Regions from separate parts of the Homo sapiens genome. Here regions 2 and 3 are each linked to region 1. The links are contacts of gene promoters, found by promoter capture Hi-C in blood cells and fetal thymus (Javierre and others, 2016). All regions are on one chromosome and are shown on one strand. The core of a region is centred on a gene start or on the middle of the fragment in contact, and the rest is flanking DNA. Distances in the headings are between cores, read along the strand shown.

What was found. The method cuts DNA at HindIII sites, captures the fragments that hold promoters and counts their contacts. A CHiCAGO score of 5 or more calls a contact.
Region 2: a contact is called between a fragment that was not itself captured here and the fragment with the promoter of PGRMC2 in region 1, in 2 of 17 cell types (naive B cells and total B cells). The highest score is 6.2, in naive B cells.
Region 3: a contact is called between a fragment that was not itself captured here and the fragment with the promoter of PGRMC2 in region 1, in 1 of 17 cell types (total CD4 T cells). The highest score is 5.3, in total CD4 T cells.

The regions. Positions count from the first base shown.
Region 1 is chr4:128,286,383-128,289,339 of GRCh38, reverse strand. PGRMC2 (progesterone receptor membrane component 2) reads left to right here and starts at 1,527. Exons shown (of 3, transcript NM_006320.6): 1 at 1,527-1,967. The coding sequence starts at 1,550. RefSeq lists silencers at 232-526, 898-1,087, 1,408-1,587, 1,598-1,647, 1,828-1,887. The HindIII fragment of the contact is 4,970 bases long and covers 1-2,957 here.
Region 2 is chr4:147,615,067-147,618,109 of GRCh38, reverse strand. TMEM184C (transmembrane protein 184C) reads right to left here and starts at 713. Exons shown (of 10, transcript NM_018241.3): 1 at 31-713. The coding sequence starts at 153. TMEM184C-DT (TMEM184C divergent transcript) reads left to right here and starts at 865. Exons shown (of 2, transcript NR_186679.1): 1 at 865-1,022. RefSeq lists enhancers at 294-343, 374-493. The HindIII fragment of the contact is 898 bases long and covers 1,020-1,917 here.
Region 3 is chr4:147,678,571-147,682,030 of GRCh38, reverse strand. PRMT9 (protein arginine methyltransferase 9) reads left to right here. Exons shown (of 12, transcript NM_138364.4): 2 at 1,560-1,708. Among named protein-coding and RNA genes, the nearest start is that of PRMT9, 3.9 kb to the left of the region's middle. The HindIII fragment of the contact is 2,263 bases long and covers 645-2,907 here.

The sequences.
Region 1 (2,957 bases), core at 278-2,777:
ATATTTCAATGATTTTCTTAAAAATCAAAAGAATATTTCATACCTGAAATTATATTAAAAATTCAATGTCCATAGTTTTACTGAAGACAGCTACACTCATTCAAGTATTGTCTATGGCTGCTTTCTCGTTACAAGGTAGAGCTGAGTAGTTAAGGCAGAGACTTAAAATATGATCGGGCCCTTTACAAAAAATGTTTGCCAACCCCTGCTCTAATGTCTCCCCTAGCTCTGAGTCTCCTCACCTCACGCACAAATACCCTAGCCTACTAACTGCTTTCCCACTCTTTCCCCAGCCTCTAATCCTTCAGACACCTGGTTGCTATACAGCCTCTCTACAAGAGTGTCGACCCTGTCACTTGCCTCGTCAATATCCTCAGTGACTCCTACAAAACCGACAGTGAAAGGTTCAAACCTATTCTATGAGACTCAAGACAACAGACAACAAAGGGCAAGAGAGAACACGTCAAACGAGTTCGTCAAACGAGTTGAGTGCGTGAGACTTCAGAGGTCACTTTTTCACACTAGAATTTCAAGGTGTGAGAGGCTAAAAGACGTCCAAGTACATGAAACAGAACCTGCAAATAAGAGTGAATGACGAATAGAAAGACCACCTCAACCTGTCCACTTCCCTACGGCCGCAGAAGTTATGATTCAAGGAATAATGAGACTCTAAATCCTTTAAAATTCTACAAGAGCAGCCTTTGCCAAACCCAGCGGGGAGTGGCTGCTCGGTGCCAGCGCGAGGAGCACGTAGACTGCCGATGCCAGAGAAGCCCGGTGCGGGTTCCGTGCTTTCTCTCCGTTCCAGGAAGACCCCAGCTCGTGGCCAAATCTTCTTGCCGCTTCCCGGTCTGCGCGCCTACGCTGCCGGTTTCCCGACAAAAGCGACGGCGCCCTGGTGAAAAGCAGACGCCCCTCATCGGTTTGCGCCTTGCAGCTCAACTATGCCCCAGCCTCCCACAAGCCACCTGCCCGCGTCCTCCGCCAGGCGTCCAGCCCGGACCTGCCCCCGCGGCCGCCAAGGCGCACGTGAAGCTCCCGGGCGGGGGGAGCGCAAGGAGGCGGGAGTTTGCGGACGCGAACGCAGGCCTAGGAAGGGAAGCGATTCCAGGGCGCACGCGCAGAGCCTGGAGACTGGGCGGGGCGTGCCTCCCGCAGGGGTTACGAACGAAAGGCGAGCGCGTGGCGCTCAGGAGCCCGCGCACGCGCTGTGGTCTCGCCCCGCCCATGAGCGTCCGCGCGGCCGTCGTAGCATCTTTTCTTCAGACCCGCCCGGCTCGTCTACTTAACCTAGCGGAGGCTTGGAGTGAGAGCAGGGAAGTGTGGGGCGAGGTGGGCGGGGCGTTGCACGCGTGCGCGGCCAGCGAAAGAAGGGAGGGGGCGGGAGATCCGAGACAACGTTACCCCGTCAACACCCAATCAGGAGCCGGCCTGACCCCGCCCCCTCTTCTCACGTTATTGGCTGAGAGGCCCCCAGATGGGCGGGGCCGGCCGTGGGGTTGGGGAGGGCAGGGGGCGGGGAGGAGGAGGAAGGCGCTGGCGGGCAGTGATGGCGGCTGGTGATGGGGACGTGAAGCTAGGCACCCTGGGGAGTGGCAGCGAGAGCAGCAACGACGGCGGCAGCGAGAGTCCAGGCGACGCGGGAGCGGCAGCGGAAGGGGGAGGCTGGGCGGCGGCGGCGTTGGCGCTTCTGACGGGGGGCGGGGAAATGCTGCTGAACGTGGCGCTGGTGGCTCTGGTGCTGCTGGGGGCCTACCGGCTGTGGGTGCGCTGGGGGCGGCGGGGTCTGGGGGCCGGGGCCGGGGCGGGCGAGGAGAGCCCCGCCACCTCTCTGCCTCGCATGAAGAAGCGGGACTTCAGCTTGGAGCAGCTGCGCCAGTACGACGGCTCCCGCAACCCGCGCATCCTGCTCGCGGTCAATGGGAAAGTCTTCGACGTGACCAAAGGCAGCAAGTTCTACGGCCCGGGTGAGGAGTTGGAAGGGGAGGGGAAGGACCCCCTGCAGCTGAAGCACAACCCCCTTCGGACAGGGAGGCCTCTGGGCACCGGGTTAGTTTGCCCAGCCTTCTCGTCTCCGGGACCCCCGCGCCTCGGCCGCCGCACCTGGGACGGCCCATCCCGCCCCTACACACACACCGTCCCCCCGCAGCTACGGGCACCTCCAGTTCTTCCCCCGAAACCAGGGTCCCCGGTGGCGCCCCAGAGACCAGCTCTCAGCATTCATCTTTCTTCCATCCCATTTCTCCTCGCAGCCTTTTTTTTTTGTTTCTTTGGCTGGATTTTTCAAAATCGTTTTAGTTGTCACAGGTCAACGCTGGCCCTTAACCTTTTTTGAGTCTCCTGATTCCTGGGATGGATGGGGCACCAGGGAAGGGAGATTTCTGAAGTTGGGACCTAAACTAAAGTTTTGGGCTCTGTAATTCACCGTTTTCTTTTCCTTGCCCCCTTTTTTTTTTTTTTTGCCACTGATCTCCTTTTTTCCCTCGCTGTATTACTCCGTAAGGCCACGTTTAGGGGCATGTAAAGTCCCAACCCTCCAGTCTCTGAAGTCCAGACGTATAAGCAACACCTCGGACTCTCTTTAAACCAGTTTTAGTTCGGAGTTGCTTTCCATGATTAACAAGGTATGTGGGATGAGAACAGACCAGAATGCAGAGCTTATTAAAGACTGGTAAGGATATTCACCTTGAGTTTTGGGGGTGGAGCTCCTATACCCAGCAGGCGTGTCTCTGGTTTCTTTTTTCTTTTTTTTTCTCTTTTCAAGTACACGTTGATAATGACTTGTGTTTTCACTTAGCAGAACTAAGGAGAAAAAACTTAGAAGAGTTGTAGATTTATACCCCCATGTGCCAGTTATGCAAGTTAAAGATTTTTAGAACTTTGTTTTGAGAGAACTTTGTTTTCAGGGAACTTTGTGTAGGGTAGTTGATTTAGACGCCCTTTTTTTACAGTGTGGT
Region 2 (3,043 bases), core at 219-2,718, about 19 Mb before region 1:
GTACAGGCTGATGGTGCAGAACCCTCTTACCTCCAGTTTCTGTAATTCCCACACGCATAGGGGAACCGCAACCACTATTGACACCAGGTAGATGACCGCTACTAAAGGTCGAATCCACTGTCTCCAGTTCCTCCAGGTACAAGTGCAAGGCATGTTTTCGCACAAATCAGATCCGGTTAGCAAGGGAAAAGATCTCGAAAAGATTGTAATGGGGAGCCCTGTTCTCTGGCTGTTTTGTCAACTCGCATACTACGGAGAAAAAGCTGTCGGGCGACTTTACGAACAGCTCGAGCCGCCTCCTGGACCGGCGCTGTGTCTTCTGCTGCTGCTGCTTCTGCAAATGTAGCCTCTCAGGGTGCTATTGGCGAGCAGTGCAGGCAACATCCTTTCTTCTCCACCCCGCATCTACCCGGTTGTACTGCGGTGGAATCCCAGGCAGAGCCGCTGCCCTCACCTGGGGATCGCCCTGAGCTCTGCCTGTACCATGGCTTCCAGGAGAGCAGCACAGACCAGGAACCGGCCTCTAGGGACCCTGCACACTCCGGTTCTGTCTCGCAGCTGCCTGCCCACTCGCTCTTTTCTTTGGGGATCGAGCTTCCTACCTCCCGCACTGGCAGGCGTCTCTTCAGTCGATTCCGCTAGTAGGTAAGGCCCCAGGATCTCCTCATTCTTTCGCACGGGACCTCCCCTACAGCGGAACCCAAGGCCAAACCAAGACTTTCAGCTCTTTTCCGCTTCCGCCCCTGCTGTCTGAGGCAGGTGATTCGTCGTCAGCGCCAAACTGGGCCCGCCCCATCCGACTCACTTTGCGCCCTCTGATTGGTCAGCTGTGGGGGCGGGGCTGCAGGATTGCGTACTGGGGTTAGAAAGAAGAGCAGGTGCGTGGAAGTGGGTGGAATTGCCGCAGATGGTCCAGCGGGCTATTGCAAGGATTCTGGAAGCTGCGGGAATTATTTGAGGACACTTGAAGCACACCTACTACATTCTTCTGCTGGCGTTATTCCAGTTTAAAGAAAGCTTGGGTAAGGGGCGGTTACTTCAGAGTTGGACTGGAAGAGAGAAGGCCCATCTCTACACAAAACATCCCCTATTCAATCTAGAGTGGATACAGAAGCCCGCTGGAGTAAGAAGACAAGGAAGAATGGGAAACCTCCACCTAGTTTTCTGTCAGTTGCTAGAATCTAGGGGCTAGGCCGCTTGGTTATTTCTGGATCCTACAGAAGGATCATTCTAAAGGTAGCTTCATTTTAGAATTAACCGCAAATAGGGAATGTCCCTTCTACATTTGGAACTTGTGTTAAAAATTTGCACTCATTTAAGTTTTAAAAAGTTGACATTCCATCTGACAAAGGAGTTTCATATGCTTAAAGCCTTTAGCTAAACCAATAGAGTAAACAAATATCTACTACTCAATTACATATACAAATGCGTTTTATATTGTAATTGTAATTTTCAGGGGGACAGGCACTGTACTAAGTTCATTACCTACATTATGTAAGTTGTTCTGCACAAAAATTTTGAGAGGTAGGCATTTTTCCACTTTACAGATAAAAAAGTCAAGTGGCTGATAAATTTGCCCAGGCTCACTGAGCTAGTTAAGTGGTAGTGTGGAGATAGCAACCTTGGTCTTTGTGACTCCAAAGGGCATTATATTTAAGCATTTGACCTGCTAGTACCTGCCACCTGGGGAATTTCCGCCTAATGACCATACGGATAAGGAGGCTTGTAACATTGAGTACACCTAGCCCAGGAGTCTCACAGAGACACCTAAGGAATATTATGAGCCCCTTTTTTGGTATCGTCTGTTTGGACTTGACTTCACTGCCTACTTCTCAGTTGTTAACATTTGTATTTTACAACCTGACCCAAACTACTTTCTACCGGAAAAATAGGCCTTATGTTTGTTCTTCCTAAGCTTACTTTAAAAATGGAAATTAAGGCTGGGTGCAGGGGCTCATGCCTGTAATCCCAGCAGTTTGGGAGGCGGAGGTGGGCGGATCATGAGGTCAGGAAATCGAGACTATCCTGGCTAACACAGTGAAACTCCGTCTCTACCAAAAATACAAAAAATTAGCCAGTTGTGGTGGCGGGAGCCTGTAGTCCCAGGTACTCAGGAGGCTGAGGCAGGAGAATGGCGTGAACCCGGGAGGCGGAGCTTGCAGTGAGCCGAGATCAAGCCACTGCACTCCAGCCTGGGCGACAGAGCGAGACTCTGTCTCAAAAAATAAATAAATAAATAAATAAATAAAATTAATTAAAAAAAATTCCTGATCATTAAATTAATGCTTGCTCTGTTGTTAAAGTTCATAAAAAAGAAGAATAATGAAGAGAAAGTTAATTTTACTCTACGGCCAAGTATAACTACTCTTTACTTGTTTGGTACACAGTAGAGGCTATCTTGGATATGCCGTATGCGTAGATTGTCTCTGTGCTTTCAGCTACAGCGTTTTTGCTGCCTATAATCTTTCCCATTCTTTCTCATGGGCAAACTTTTTTTGCCTAATTTGTGAGACCTTCCTTTATTTTTGTTTCCCCATGTATTCTTACAGCATTTATATGGTATTATACTCATTTACTTATTTGTCTTGTTTAGATTTTGAATTCCTAAAGCAAAAATCTAAATCCATTAGAAAAAAGCAAAAGAGAGAAGAGATGAGACAGATGCACAAATGATTTCACATACCAGTTTGCGAACTGGAATTCTTCTATGGTGAAATTTCTTCAGCTCAGCAGAGAAATTAAAAACAAAATTACAGATTGAGTATGCCAAATCTGAAAATCTGAAATTCAGAATGCTCCCAAATCCAAAACTTTTTGAGTACTTATATGATGCTCAAAGGAAATGCTCCTTGAAACACTTCAGATTTTGGATTTTCAGATTTGAGATGCTCAACTGGTATGTATAATGCAAATGTTCCCCAATCTGAAAAAATCTGAAATCCAGAACACTTCTGGTCCAAAGCATTTCAGATGAGATATATGAATTTTTCATTTAGTTAAATTTCTTCACTCTTAAGGACCATGTTTTATTTTGAAATTGTCT
Region 3 (3,460 bases), core at 527-3,026, about 19 Mb before region 1:
CCATCTCAAAAAGAAAAAATAAAAAAGTATATTTAAAATTTGTAGTGCAATGCCTGACATTCAGTAGGGTAAGCAACTAGTCTGTTTCCTGCCGAACAAAGTCTGTGTTTGTTTGTATGGGCCCCCTGTAAAATGCTCATTGCCTGCTACTCTATTCCCCATACCCAAACTCCGGCCACACCAAGCCACTTATCTGTAGACCCTCTGATCCATTTCATATAATCTGTGCGGGGTTTTTTTTTTTTTTATAGAGTCTCACTGTATCACGCAGGCTGGAATGCAGTGGTGCGATCTCGGTTCACTGCAACCTCCACCTCCTGGGTTCAAGCAATTCTCCTGCCTCAGCCTCCTGAGTAGCAGGGATTATAGGTGTTCGCCACCGTGCTTGGCTAATTTTTATATTTTTAGTAGAGATGGGGTTTCACCGTGTTGGCCATGCTGGTCTTCAACTCCTGACCTCAGGTGATCTGCCTGCCTTGGCCTCCCAAAGGGCTGGGATTACAGGCATGAGCCACCGTGCCCGGCCAGAATCTCCTTTCTTATCCTTGTCTCTCTAGTAAACTCCCTCAAGATTCAGTTCCAAATATCAACGCTTTTGTATAAAATATGTGAAGATGATTTAAAATGTTTTAATGACTAAAGCTTTCCCTCTTTCCACAGTATTGCAGCATGGAGAATGGATGGAGGGAGATGCAGTTGGAATTAGAGTGACAGCGTTAAGGCTGTTGCTGTAGTCCAGCAAGTGGTTACAAGGGCCAGATTAGGTTGTAACTGTGGGAATGGAGAGGAGGTAACAGATTTAAAGATATTGAGAGAGCATTGGCTAGGTTTGAAACAGTGTATGTGGAGTTAAGGTACCATTATAAGGTGACTTTGTGGTTTGAGGTTGAGTGGTGTCTTAATCTTATAGCCTGTGTCAGAGGAGTATGATGAGTTCAGTGTAGAACATTTTGAACTTTTCCAAAATTAAATTTCTCTCTATAGGGCCTCTGTGAGGATAAGAACAAGATTTATGTTGCTTCAGTTCTTTGCACAAGGATTGTTCAGGAAATATTTGAGTTGGACTACATTTGCAATGGCTGGAGATCCATTGCCGGGTTGAAATGACTAATAGGAAGCTGTATCTATGAGTCTGAGGTTCAGAAGAGAAGGTCTTGACTAGAGATGTAAATGTAGCATCCATTAACACATGGGTGATAATAAATGCGTTAGGGATGGATGAGTGAAAAAAGAAGAGGGCCAAGGACAAACTCCAAAAACACAGGAGCCGACAAAAGTGAGGCAGTTCTGGAGAATAAGGAGAATGTGATACAGCAGCTAAGAGTGGGGGGAGTTTAGAGAGTGGTCAGACTAATTCTGCTTATTATTGCCATGTAGGTGGTAAAATTCATTCATTTGTGCACTTGTTCAGAAAACAGTGCCTACTAAAGTTAAATGAAGTTTAAGGTGATTGTTCAATAGTGATTAAGTTCGATTGCTTGGAATCTTCAACTAATGATGTATATTCTTTCATCTTTTATGTTATTGACTAATTCATAATTTTTTTCTTATTTGTAAAGGAAACTTTTCAGTACACACTTTTCAGATGGGCTGAAGAGCTTGATGCTCTCAGTCGGATACAAGACTTACTTGGTTGCTATGAGCAGGCCTTGGAACTGTTTCCTGATGATGAAGTGATTTGCAATAGTATGGGGGAGCATCTCTTCAGGTTTGTAGTGATTTTAGTATTACTTGTTAAGAATTATTCTGTATTAGTCTGGATAGGGATAAATCATACTGTAATTTTAACAGGGAAAGTTTAATATGGAGAATTATTAAGGAGAATTGAAAAGAATAGCAGATATATAATAATCATAGCAGTTTTAATATTTTGTAATATACGGCATAATAGCCACTGCCCTTAGGAGTAAGACAGAATATCCAAGGAAGAGTTCCCCTCACTGGGCTGAGTGCCACCCCTTATTGGAGAGGGCACAGCTGTGATTCTTAGGATGGCAGAAAAGTCACTGTAGTGCCTTGCCAGGGAACTTCTTGTAAATTTGTTTTCTGGACCTGGGTATAGTTTTGCCTCTTGGGATGCCAGAGAAAGCCTCATGGGGAAGTATCTTATCAGAGGTACTCCATTACAAAACCATGTAGTAGGGTAAGAAGCCTTGGGGAAGCTGCTGACCCTTGGATGCTGCTAGCTGCCATGCATTTCAGGAGCTTGGTGCTAGACAAGCCCTGTGCAGGAAGCAAAACTCTTTCTTGCTACAGTGTCTCTCCAGCACTGTTTTTTTTGGGGGCAGAGTCTCACTTTGTAGCCCAGGCTGGAGTGAAGTGGCGTGATCTCAGCTCACTGCAACCTCTCCACCTTCTGGGTTCAAGTGATTCTCGTTCCTCAGCCTCCTGAGAAGCTGGCATTACAGGCGCCTGCCACCCCACCCAGGTAATTTTTGTATTTTTAGTAGAGACAGGGTTTCACCATGTTGGCCAGGCTGGTCTCGAACTCCTGACCTCAAGCGATCCACCCGCCTCAGCCTCCCAAACTGCTGGGATTACAGGTGTGAGCCACTGCGCCTGGCCTCCAGCACTTTTTTTTTTTTGAGACAGTGTGTCACTGTGTCGCTCAGGTTGGAGTGCAGTAGCACCATCATGGCTCATGGCAACCTTGACCTCCCAGGCTCTGGTGATCTCACCTCAGCAGCGCCCCCACCTGCACTCCAGTAGCTGGAATTGCAGTACATGCCACCACACCTGGCTAATTTTTTGTCTTGTTTGTAGAGACAGGATTTTGCCATGTTGTTGCCCAAGCTGGTCTGGAACTCCTGGGCTCAAGCGATCCTCTGGCCTTGGCCTCCCAAAGCACTGGGATTACAGACTTGAGCCACTGCACGCGGCCTCTCCGCACTTTTTACCAACAAAGCTTACCCTTGTGCCAACTGGTGGGAGAATATTAAAGGGCCAGATACAGTTTTCACAGAGCAGGCAAAAAAGGGTGAATTTGGCAATAAGTTGATAACTTACATGTTGGGAGTCTTGGAACCACTCCCAGATTTGCTGATTTGCTGGAAGGGCTCACAGGCCTCACCATGTAGTCCTAGTCATGGCTCTTGTGTATTACTGTGAATGGATACAAAGCAAAATTTGCAAAGGGTAAATGTGTATGGGGCAAAGTGTAAAGGAAAACCAGGTGCAAGCCTCCAAAGTTCCTTTTTCAGTGAAGTCACGCAGGATGCACTTCATTCCCACGGTGAGTTATGACAGTACACGTGAAATGTTGCCAACCAGGGAAACTCATTAGAGGCTCAGTGCCCAGGGTTTCTACTGGGAGCTGGACACTTGGGTACCCTCTGCCTGGCATATACTAAAATCCTAGATTCCCAGAAGAAAAGCAGGTCAGCTGTTGAGCATAAACCACATTGTTTGTATAATCAGTTTAGGAATACTATCAGTTAGGATAGTGAGAACCCTCCCCAAA